Regions from separate parts of the Homo sapiens genome. Here regions 2 and 3 are each linked to region 1. Evidence: promoter capture Hi-C in 16 types of primary human blood cells and fetal thymus (Javierre and others, 2016). All regions are on one chromosome and are shown on one strand. Each heading gives the region's core, a stretch centred on a gene start or on the middle of the fragment in contact. The rest is flanking DNA. Distances are from core to core; before and after follow the strand shown.

Region 1 (3,594 bases), core at 583-3,082:
CCTGACCTCAGGTGATCCGCCCACCTCGGCCTCCCAAAGTGCTAGGATTATAGGTGTGAGCCACCGTGCCCAGTCAAGCCAGGCTTTTAATTTCATTCTGTATTCTTTAAATTCTACATTAACAAAATACAATGCTTCATAGTTTGCTAAAACAATGTGTTTTTACAAGACAAACTTTCTACAGTTCCACTTCTTTTTTTTTTTTTTTTTGAGACGGAGTCTCGCGCTGTTGCCCAGGCTGGAGTGCAGTGGCGGGATCTTGGCTCACTGCAAGCTCCGCCTCCCGGGTTCACGCCATTCTCCTGCCTCAGTCTCCCGAGTAGCTGGGACTACAAGCGCCTCCCAGGTTCACGCCATTCTCCTGCCTTAGCCTCCCGAGTAGCTGGGACTGCAGGCGCCTGCCACCACGCCTGGCTAATTTTTTTTTTATTTTTAGTAGAGATAGGGTTTCACCGTGCTAGCCAGGATGGTCTCGATCTCCTCACCTCGTGATCTGCCTGCCTCGGCCTCCCAAAGTGCTAGGATTACAGGCGTGAGCCACCGCGCCCCGCCTACAGTTCCACTTCTTAGAAGACTGTATGGTATGAAAATAATGTACAAGAGTTTGGGTCATAACAATTTACTTTTCTATGTCTCTAATTTTGTTTATATGTTTTGAGAAAGGGTCTTGCTCTGTTCCTCAGGCTGGAATGCAATGAGTAATCACGGCTCACTGCAGTCTCAACCTCCTAGGCTCAAGTGATCCTCCAGCCTCAGCCTCCCCAGAAGCTGCAGGCGTTTGCCACCACACCTGGTTAATTTTTAATTTTTTGTAGAGACAGGTTTGGGGAGGGGGTCCTTAGCACGTTGACTAGGCTGGTCTCGAACTCCTGGGCTCAAACAATCCTCCTGCATAGGCCTCCCAGTGTTGGGATTACAGGCATGAGCCACAGCACCTGGACAATTTCCCAGATATAGTAAACTGCTGAACCACCTTAGGGTGCGTTTCAGCCTTAGAGGTCTTTTCTCTGCTAGTTACAAAGCAAGATCCAGAGTATCATTCTAGGTTTATCAAAAATCTCTCTTCCCTAGACAATGGCTGGATAGAGGAAGAAAAAGCAGGCCCTTTGATTAGAGACACACCTTAATGCTGGCTTTACATTCTCAGTCACGTGTTTTAAGCAAGATTTGAAATTCCTTCTCTAGAGTCTCGCTCCAGAGAGCGCCCTAAACCGAAATGGGAAACTGAGGCTAAGGTTCCAAGTACCTTCAAACCGCCGGTACAGTACAAGGGCACAGAAGAGCGGAGACCGCGGACAAGGAAAGCCAGCATAAAAGCTGGAGGGGAGAAAGAAGAAAGGCGATCGGGCTGCCCTGAGTGAGGAATTCAGGGAAGCCAGCAGGGATTTAAGAGCAGCCTCCCGAGTCCGTGGGGGCAACGCCACAGTTCAGCCCCTTCCCCTCCCTCAGCTCGAGTCTTCCCGCCCCGTGCCGGTCAGCCCGAAGACCCCAGCGCCGCCCAGACCCGCCTTCCCCACAGACCCCGCCACCTGTCAGTGAAAGGCCGCAGCCAGGGGCAAAGAGGTGGTCCAGTGGCTCAGAGGTCCCCAATGGGCCAAAGTTGCCCTAAAACCCGGGGAGTGGCCTCGGCCTCCGCCCCCCGGCCCGGCCTTGCCAAGCTTTACCTTGAGTGCCAGGTGATGGACGCGGCCCAGGCCAGGCTCGGCCAGCAACTGCAGCAAACCCAGCATTGGGAGCAGCCGGAGGCCCGCGGCCAGCCTAGGACCGCGGGAGGCGGGGGAGCCGACGGGCGCCAGAGCGGCCATGTTTGTTCCAGCATCACCAGCCGCTTCCTCTCCCGCCCACGTCCGGGGTGAAAGGGCGCAGCCGCCGGAAGGGCCCGGGGAGCGGGGCTCGGCGGCTAGCTCCGCTGACCCTGTGGTCGTTTTCCTGGAGATTGCGACCTAGGAAGTCGTCGAGGAGCCTGTGCTGCCCACCTCGGGGCCCTTCGATCGGCCGCTCCTGTGCAGACTTTCAGTTAGAGATGAAGCCAACCTATTGGCGGTTGCCATAACAACGGTGGCCGAACCAGACCAGCCCGGGCCGCACCTCCGCCTCGCTGAGCTTTGGAAGCGACCTTGGGCTCCGGGGACCCCTGATCTCAGGGTCGGGGGATAAGCTGTGTCAGCCGCACGGTGTCGGGCCACTGATTGAACTGATTTCACTGAGCGTTGACTCGGAGGAAAATATCTAAAAATTCCCGGCTCGCCGTAGGGGTCCTGTGGTTTTCTAGGCGCTTCACACTCAAATACAAGCGAAATGGTTGCAATAATACGATTGATTGAGCCCTTATGAGGCAATTTGTTAGGCCTTTTGTTGTATTTAATTTTTGGAACAATTTGATGAGCTAGGAGGTACGTATTATCATTATTCCTACTTTACAGGTAAGCAAACTGAGGCTCTGAGAAATAAGTCATTTGCTCCAGGTTGAGCTGGGAATCACACGGAAGCTCTTAACTCCTGTGTTCTGTTGCCTCATGCTATTTCATCCAACCCCAAGTCTGGGTCTTAACATTTTTCTCTTAATTCTGTATGGAAACTTTCTTTGCTTCTTTCAGAAATTATAGGAACTTCTTTTTTTTGAGACGGAGTCTAGCTCTTGTCACCCAGGCTGGAGTGCAATGGCACGATCTCAGCTCACTGCAACCTCCGCCTTCTGGGTTCAAGCGATTCTCCTGCCTCAGCCTCTGGAGTAACTAGAATTACAGGCCTGCGCCACCACGCCCGGCTAATTTTTGTATTTTTAGTAGACACGGGGTTTCTCCCATGTTGGCCAGGCTGGTCTCGAACTCCTGACCTCAAGTTATCCTCCCGCCTCGGCCTCCCAAAGTGCTGGGATTACAGGCGTGAGTCACTGCGCCCAACCTGCTTTGGAGTACTTTTTATCTTTTAAAGTTAAGTGGCATCTTTGAAAATCTCTGGTTTTAAATTTGAATATAATACTGTACTAAAAACGAAATGAGGCCTGGCAGGGTGGTGATTCGCGCCTGAATCCCAGCACTTTGGAACGCCGAGGCGGGCGGATCACTTGAAAGTCAGTTGTTCGGGACCAGCCTGGGCAACATGGCAAAACCTCGTCTCTACTAAAAATACAAAAATTAGCGGGGCATCACGGCCGCGCGCCTGTAGTCCCAGCTACTGGGGAGGCTGAGGCAGGAGAAGCACTTGAACCTGGGAGGCAGAGGTTTCAGTAAGCCAAGATCATGCCACTGCACTCCAGCCTGGGTGACAGAGTGAGACTCTGTCTCAATAAAAAAAAAATCAGGTAAGAATCTTAATCCCATTTTATAATACAATAGTGATGAAACATTAAAATAGTTTTAAATAGGAGACTTTTGTCTTAGTTTCTGGACAACAGTTTTATAAGGGCTTAAAACTGGGTTCATAGCATTCCTTGCTTCTCTATACTTGGGTATTATCATGTGACCTACATAGGGTCATACCAGTGCTGTCTGTCCAGGGGTTTAAGAGGATATCTTCTTCTTTCACATATTTGAAAGCTGTATTGTGCCAGTCATTATTTTGGAATTGAGAGGAATAAGAATGAGGGAAAAC
Region 2 (3,594 bases), core at 797-3,296, 240 kb after region 1:
TTAATGGAGTCTTGCTCTGTCGCCACGCTGGAGTGCAATGGCTTGATCTTGGCTCACCGCAACCTCCGCCTCCCAGGTTCATGCAATTCTACCTCAGCCTCCTGAGTAGCTGGGACTATAAGCACCTGCCACCATACCCAGCTAATTTTTTTGTATTTTTTTTAGTAGAGACCAGGTTTCACCATGTTGGCCAGGCTGGTCTTGAACTCCTGACCTCAGGTGATCCACCCACTTTGGCCTCCCAAAGTGCTGGGATTACAGGCATGAACCACCATGCCTGGCCCTAATTTTTGTATTTTAATAGAGATGGGGTTTCACCATGTTGGCCAGGCTGGTCTCAAACCCCTGACCTCAACTTATCCGTCTGCCTCAGCCTCCCAAAGTGCTGGGATTACAGGTGTGAGCCACCATGCCCGACCCCACCCCCTTTTTAAATAAAAATCAGTATCCTCATGACATCCCACATTGCCCCTTTGATGACAAAAGAGCAGCATCTCTGACAGCATCCGTGTGGCATCTCGCAGTGCGGGAACCGTAACCAAAGTATCGGGCTTTGGAGTGAGACAGGACTGGGTTCAGGTCCCAGCTCTGCCACATATAGTCTTGGGCAAGTGGAGTAAGCGCTCTCTGTGCCTCAGTTCCCTCATCTGTAAAATGAGAACGATAGTGCCCACTCCATGGGGTTGGTAGGAACAAAGAAGATTTTGGGCATGTAAAGTTCTTAGTGCCGAGTGCACAGTGGTCTGTAAGTGAAGCTGCGGTTCTTAGTGGTAGAAGGAGCTGATTGATGGCCCTGGCTGAGAACTTTGTGTTCGCTTTTTCCCCTTTTAATTCAGGATCAGTTACAGTTGTGGATTCGAGGCAACGTGAGTGCCTGTGCGAGGTCCATCTTCATATTTGATGAAATGGATAAGATGCATGCAGGCCTCATAGATGCCATCAAGCCTTTCCTCGACTATTATGACCTGGTGGATGGGGTCTCCTACCAGAAAGCCATGTTCATATTTCTCAGGTAAGGTCAGGGCTAGGACATGATGGATGGGCCCCGAGCCCAAGCCTCTGAGCTCCAGGAGAAAACCCTGTCCTTACCCACTGGGATTGTTTTGCAGCAATGCTGGAGCAGAAAGGATCACAGATGTGGCTTTGGATTTCTGGAGGAGTGGAAAGCAGAGGGAAGACATCAAGCTCAAAGACATTGAACACGCGTTGTCTGTGTCGGTTTTCAATAACAAGAACAGTGAGTAGGGCCATCCACCGCCAGTCCCATCTGGTTCCTAATCCTGCACCCTAAGTGTTAAAAGCATCAGGGTCACTGTCAGCATCACCTGGGAGCTGGGTAGAAAGAAATGCAGATTCTCAGTCCCCTTCCGAGTCATGAGGGGAATCTTTGCTGATGAACTCCAGGTAACTTTTATGAACACTAATGTTTGACAAGTGCTGTTTTATTTTTATTTTTCAGATAGTTTTACTCTGTCACCTAGGCTGGAGTGCAGTGGCGTAACCTTGCCTCACTGCAACCTCTGCCTCCCGGGCTCAAGCGATTCTTGTGCCTCAGCCTCCTGAGTAGCTGGGATTACAGGTGCACACCATGCCCAGCTAATATTTGTATTTTTAGTAGAGATGGGGTTTTGTCATGTTGGCCAGGCTGGTCTTGAACTCTTACCTCAGGTGATCCGCCCACCTCGGCCTCCCAAAGTGCTGGGATTACAGGCGTGAGCCACTGTGCTCAGCTTATTTTTTGAGACAGAGTCTCACTCTGTCACCCAGGCTGGAGTCCAGTGGTGTGATCTCAGCTCACTGGAGTCTTGACTTCCTAGGCTCAAGTGATCCTCCAGCCTCAGCTTCCCATGTAGGTGGAACCACAGGCTTGCGCCACCATGCCTGGCTAATTTTTTTTTTTTTTTTTTTTTTTTTTTTTGGTAGAGACTGGGTCTTCCTATGTTTCCCAGGCTGGTCTTGACTTCCTGGACTTAAGTCATCCTCCCGCCTCAGCCTCCCAAAGTGCTGGAATTATAGGCATGAGCTACATACCTGGCCTGCTGTTTTTTTTTTTTTTTTGAGATGGAGTCTCGCTCTGTTGCCCAGGCTGGAGTGCAGTGGCGCGATCTCGGCTCACTGCAAGCTCTGCCTCCCAGGTTCACACCATTCTCCTGCCTCAGCCTGCCGAGTAGCTGGGACTACAGGCACCTGCCACCACACTCGGCAAATTTTTTGTATTTTTAGTAGAAACGGGGTTTCACCATGTTAGCCAGGATGGTCTTATCTCCTGACCTCGTGATCCGCCTGCCTCGGCCTCCCAAAGTGCTGGGATTACAGGCGTGAGCCACCACGCCTGGCCAGTTCCCCCATTTTCTTCAGCTACATGATTTTCTTTGTAGAAGAAAGAGCCAGTGGTTGAGCAAGGAAGGATGCCGTGGGCAGCTCAGGGGGAGAGATGACCTGTTAGTTCCTCCCTTTCTCTGCATTGCCCAAGAGCAACAGCCAAATAGCGGTTCGGCCCTTATTTTGTACTGGGCACCGTGTGAAACAGCCTGCCTGCGGATTTCACTCAGTCTTCACCATACCTCGCAGGGTAGAGACTGAGACTCAGAGATGTGGCAGCTTGCCCAGGGCCATGCAGCCTGTTCGGTATCTCTGATTCTAAAACCTGAGCTTTTAAGTTTTAGCTCACTACTTCTCCAAATGTCATGAGACCTTTGACCTTGAACCTGGGGAGGTGGAAAGCCAGCCTGATGGAGGCTGACTCACTGGCTAAGACCTGTGAGTTGTGCAGGGCTGGCTGTTCAAGTCTTTGCGCTTCAGGTTCTGGAGATGACAAAACAGAAGGGCTCATTTGAAACAGACTTGCCAAGAAATTAATCCTACAGTTAGTGAACAGCATGGGGTACAGTATGTCAGTGTGTGCAAGTGGAATACTACTGAGGAAAGACAAGTATTTTGTAACATGTTGGATAGTTTCTTGCCTTGCCAAAAAACATGAGCACATGCAGTGGAAACTTTAGCCTAATGCTGAGGCAGATGAGCCCCGTGGCCTAGAATCCACGCTGTGGAGGTTACACGGTGCTTAGGAGTGCCAACCTGGGAGTCGGGCAGCCCTGGCCCACAGACTGACTGTGACCTCAGGCAGATGGCTGAACATTGATTCAGCACATGTATATGGAGCATCTGGTAAGTGCCAGGCATCATACCTAGGACGGGGGACACAGCAGTGAACAAACACAGAAATTCTTGCCCTTATCAATCCTACATCCTAGTGATAATAAAGAAAGAAAATGTATCAGATGATGGGGGATAGATATGTTGATGTGTGTGATGTGTTTGTGTGTATACATGCAGTACATATGCACACATCGCACATGTACACATGTGGACATATAGATATCTTTCCCCCCGGGGCCAGTAGGGGAAAAAAATCAAGAAAGGCTTTGGGGTTCAGGGTAAGGATGGGCTCTGCTTTAATAGAGTGGACAGGGAAGGCTCCCTGTGAGGGTGGCATTTGGGCTGACCCGGGGGAGTGAGCCATGTGGATGTCTGAGGGAAAAGCATTCCCCAGTGCGGACAGCACGTCCAGGGGCCCGAGGGGGGCCTGTGCTT
Region 3 (3,594 bases), core at 517-3,016, 190 kb before region 1:
CCCCTTGTCCAGGGAGGCCCCTGGGGAGTGAGGTAGGGAGAGTAGCCCAATCCCCGCCCGATACTGCGTCACTGGCCTGGCACTGCCCATCTGTGGCTGGTGTCCATAACCTTCCTGTGTGTGCTACTGCTGTTGTTTTTTTTTTTTTTTTTTTTTTTGGACAGAGTCTCATTCTCTGTCACCCAGGCTGGAGTGCAGTGGCACTATGACGGCTCACTGCAGCCTCGACCTCACTATGCCCAAGCAATTCTCTCATCTCAGCCTCCTGAGTAGCTGGGACTGCAGGTGAGTGCCACCATGCCTGGCTAATTTTTTTGTATTTTGTAGAGATGGGGTTTTGCCATGTTGCCCAGGCTGGTCTCGAACTCCTGACCTCAAGTGATCCACCCACCTCGGCCTCCCAAAGTGCAGGAATTGCAGGCATGAGCCACCGCCCCCGGCCTTCCTTCTTGAACCAGGCTAGCATTCATCACAGGCTGTGGCAGAAGCCTGGCACTGTGGCTGCCCAGCATATACACTCCAGGCTCTCATTCATCCCTGTGGAAATGGGTGAAGGATTCTGGTTAGCTTTAGGCTTCTGCCTAGAAATCACTTAAGCAGCATCCAGCTTGTATTAGTTGATCTGATGGACGAGCATGGGGGTAGAATCCGAACCTCAGGGTTCCCTCTGATTCCCTTCCCATGACTGGGAGCTCCCTTTGTTTTTTGCTTTTTGTTTTTTTTGAGATGGAGTCTCGTTCTGTCACCCGGGCTGGAGTGCAGTGGTGTGATCTCGGCCCACTGCAACCTCCACCTCCTGGGTTCAAGCGGTTCTCCTGCCTCAGCCTCCCGACTACCTGAGATTACAGGCACACGCCACCATGCCCAGCTAATTTTTGTATTTTTGGTAGAGGTGGAGTTTCACCATGTTGACCAGGCTGGTCTCGAACTCCTGGCTTCAAGTGATCCGCCTGTCTCAGCCTCCCAAAGTGCTGGGATTACAGGCGTGAGCCACCACGTCTGGCCTGGGAGCTCCCTTTCTCCCTCCTTCCAGGCCAGCACTTGCACCTTCCCCTGCAGGTCCCAGCTCGGGCCCCTGGCATTCCACAGATCTGCCCCTTCTAAGGCAGGAAGGGCCTCTTGATGCCCAACATAGGAATTGGGTCTTCAGAATCCTCAAAGAATAAAGTGGGCACTCCACAATATCACAAAGACTTCCCCTCACCTCTGGGGGCAACCAACAGTCCAGTGACTAAAACGGGACCTACTCTCAGTCATCTGACAATGATACCAAAGGGACTCTTCCCACCCTTCTCCCTGACTGTCAGAAAAAAGCTTGTTTTACTCTTTATCATATTTTTTTATCCCCAAGATCTGCTCATGTGGATGGCTTATTTTAGGTTTCTGGGAGGAAGGGAGCAATTTCTGAGGAAGGAAATTGTAGAGACAAGAAAAGGTCTGGTCCCCAAGTCTTGAAACCCCTGGCAGAATCCTTCCTGAGCTCAACCCTAGGCCAGCCTGCCCAGTCCCCTTCCTGTGGTTACCCAGTGAAAACCCAACTGGCCCGGTCCTCAGGGGCTGCCCTGGGCTCCCCAATAACCTAGAGCCTCTAGGTCCCTAGTGCTTCTGCAAAAGAAAGTCTTTCCCACAGGAGTCCCTCTGGCTGGGACCCTCAGTCCCCTGAGCCCTTGGAGGAGGAGGGCATATTGGGACAGGAAGAGGGAAAAGGCAGAAGACGGGTGGGAAAGGCATGAGCAAGCAGTAGTTACACCAGCACATGGCACTGTATGGTTGTTTATTAAGTCACTTTGGCAAACATTGAGAGTTTCGATGCAAACATTTGCAGGTGGCATCAGGTCATTGAAAGCGACCCAGCAGATCACTGGGTACATTAGGGAGAATATAAATTGGGCTGTTGACACAGAGACTCAGGATGGCTTAATCAAGATAAATGTGTGTCTCTCTTCCTCCTAAGAGCTCCAGTGTAAATGGTCCAAAGCTGGTGTGGCAGCTCCATGGGGTCAAAGACCCAGTTCTAGGAAGGCTTGTTTCAGAGTCCTCCATCCAGTCAGCAGGAAGAGGGAAGAGGGAAAGTTATGCTCATTGTTCTCATCCTATTGGATAGAACTGGGTCACATGGCCGCACTCAGCCACAAGGGAGGCTGGGAAATGTAGTCCTTTGTTCCACATGGCCCTGTGCCCAGCTAAAAAGAGATAAGGGGAAGAAGTAGAAAGCTTTTCCATACCTACACAAGCTCATTTTGCCTAAGTTCAGGGGGCCTTCCCAGCCCCTTTCCATGCCCACTGTCCTGAACCAGTTCCTCCAGACCAATGAACCTGGAGGGTAAGTTTCTGCCTCTGTACTCCCTGGGCAGGAAGATGGCAGGGAGGAGGGGGCCACTGTAGGGCAGGGATCCACATTGCATTCCCACTCCCAGCCCGACTCCCTACTCTTCTCCTTGTCATCTCCTCTGTATGCCTGGGGATGCCCTGAGCTGGGCTTTGGGGAGTACAATTTAGAGAGATACTTTCTAATATGCAGATGTGAGTTTGGGGCTTGGCAGGGTCAGTGGGGACAGGGTGGAAGGCCCGAGGTGGGGAGAAATGGGACCTCTAGGATGGTCCCTCTAGGAGGACTCACTGGTGCTATCACACCCAGGGAATAGCAGCCAATCTGAGCCATCCTGATAAAGCAGGTGGCCAGGTCTGTGCCTCTACTGAGCTTCAGCCCACAGTAAGCCATCCAGCGCAGGCTGGGCCAGGGGGTGAGTCAGCACAGGCTTTAGCCTGACTCGAGCAGAGCAAGGGACCATGACCCATCATGTGCCCTCAGCAACACCATTTCTGAACCGTGGTCCCTGTAGGCACCACGCCCAAGGCTGCTGGAAAAGACCTGAGCTTCCTCCACCAACAGCTCACCCCCGTTCAAGCTCACCCTCTGCTGGAAACATTGCCCCAGCTGCCCTCACAACGGCCTTCTGAACCAGAGCTTGGTATTTCCAAAGACAGGCGCCCGTGCACAGATTTACTTTCAGTGCTTCGGTGGAAACAGCACATTGTGTGGGTATGTAAATTACCTCCAATCTCTGCCTCAGGGACAGTCCCCAAGTGTGTGAAACAGTCTAGTCAGGAATCAGCCCTCCAGAGGGTGTCATATTAGCATTTTAAATATGTACTTTTATTAAAACCTACACCACAGATTTTATCCACACAAAGGATGTTAGAAGTCCCTTTTCATAGAAGTGTAATGTGGTGAAGATACATGCTTGGCTACAAAGATTTTCAGAGCTCAGCACTGTGCACCACAAGGGAAGAGCAGCAAGCAGCCTGGTGCTTCAGGACTGTGCTCAGGGGCAGGGCTCCTGGGGTCCTGGGGCCCCCACCCCCTGGATGGACAGGTACAGGTGCCTGCCTGTCTTTGTACTTACTTGACAGTGAATATCTGGACTTCTGGCAGAATTTGATCTAATACCTGCCTTCATTGCAACATTCCACCTCTGGCGAGGTTGTGGGGCAGGGGCTGTCGAGCCATCGCCTGCCTCTCATTGAGGGTCCATGGGGTTTTTGTCTGTTTGTTTTGAGACGGAGTCTCGGAGTCTCGCTCTGTTGCCAGGC

The links. The method cuts DNA at HindIII sites, captures the fragments that hold promoters and counts their contacts. A CHiCAGO score of 5 or more calls a contact.
Region 2: a contact is called between a fragment that was not itself captured here and the fragment with the promoter of GPR107 in region 1, in 3 of 17 cell types (naive CD4 T cells, activated CD4 T cells and naive CD8 T cells). The highest score is 6.4, in naive CD4 T cells.
Region 3: a contact is called between a fragment that was not itself captured here and the fragment with the promoter of GPR107 in region 1, in 1 of 17 cell types (erythroblasts). The highest score is 5.1, in erythroblasts.

The regions. Positions count from the first base shown.
Region 1 is chr9:130,052,144-130,055,737 of GRCh38, reverse strand. GPR107 (G protein-coupled receptor 107) reads right to left here and starts at 1,832. Exons shown (of 18, transcript NM_020960.5): 1 at 1,665-1,832. The coding sequence starts at 1,805. It also overlaps a transcript of FNBP1 not described here. RefSeq lists a silencer at 1,535-1,844. The HindIII fragment of the contact is 2,204 bases long and covers 1,661-3,594 here.
Region 2 is chr9:129,816,163-129,819,756 of GRCh38, reverse strand. TOR1A (torsin family 1 member A) reads left to right here. Exons shown (of 5, transcript NM_000113.3): 3 at 837-1,012; 4 at 1,110-1,237. Among named protein-coding and RNA genes, the nearest start is that of TOR1A, 6.2 kb to the left of the region's middle. The HindIII fragment of the contact is 9,361 bases long and covers 1-3,594 here.
Region 3 is chr9:130,239,308-130,242,901 of GRCh38, reverse strand. It overlaps MIR12126 (microRNA 12126), which reads right to left and starts at 1,515; the gene lies at 1,414-1,515. RefSeq lists enhancers at 1,978-2,272, 2,794-2,973, 3,054-3,233. The HindIII fragment of the contact is 900 bases long and covers 1,317-2,216 here.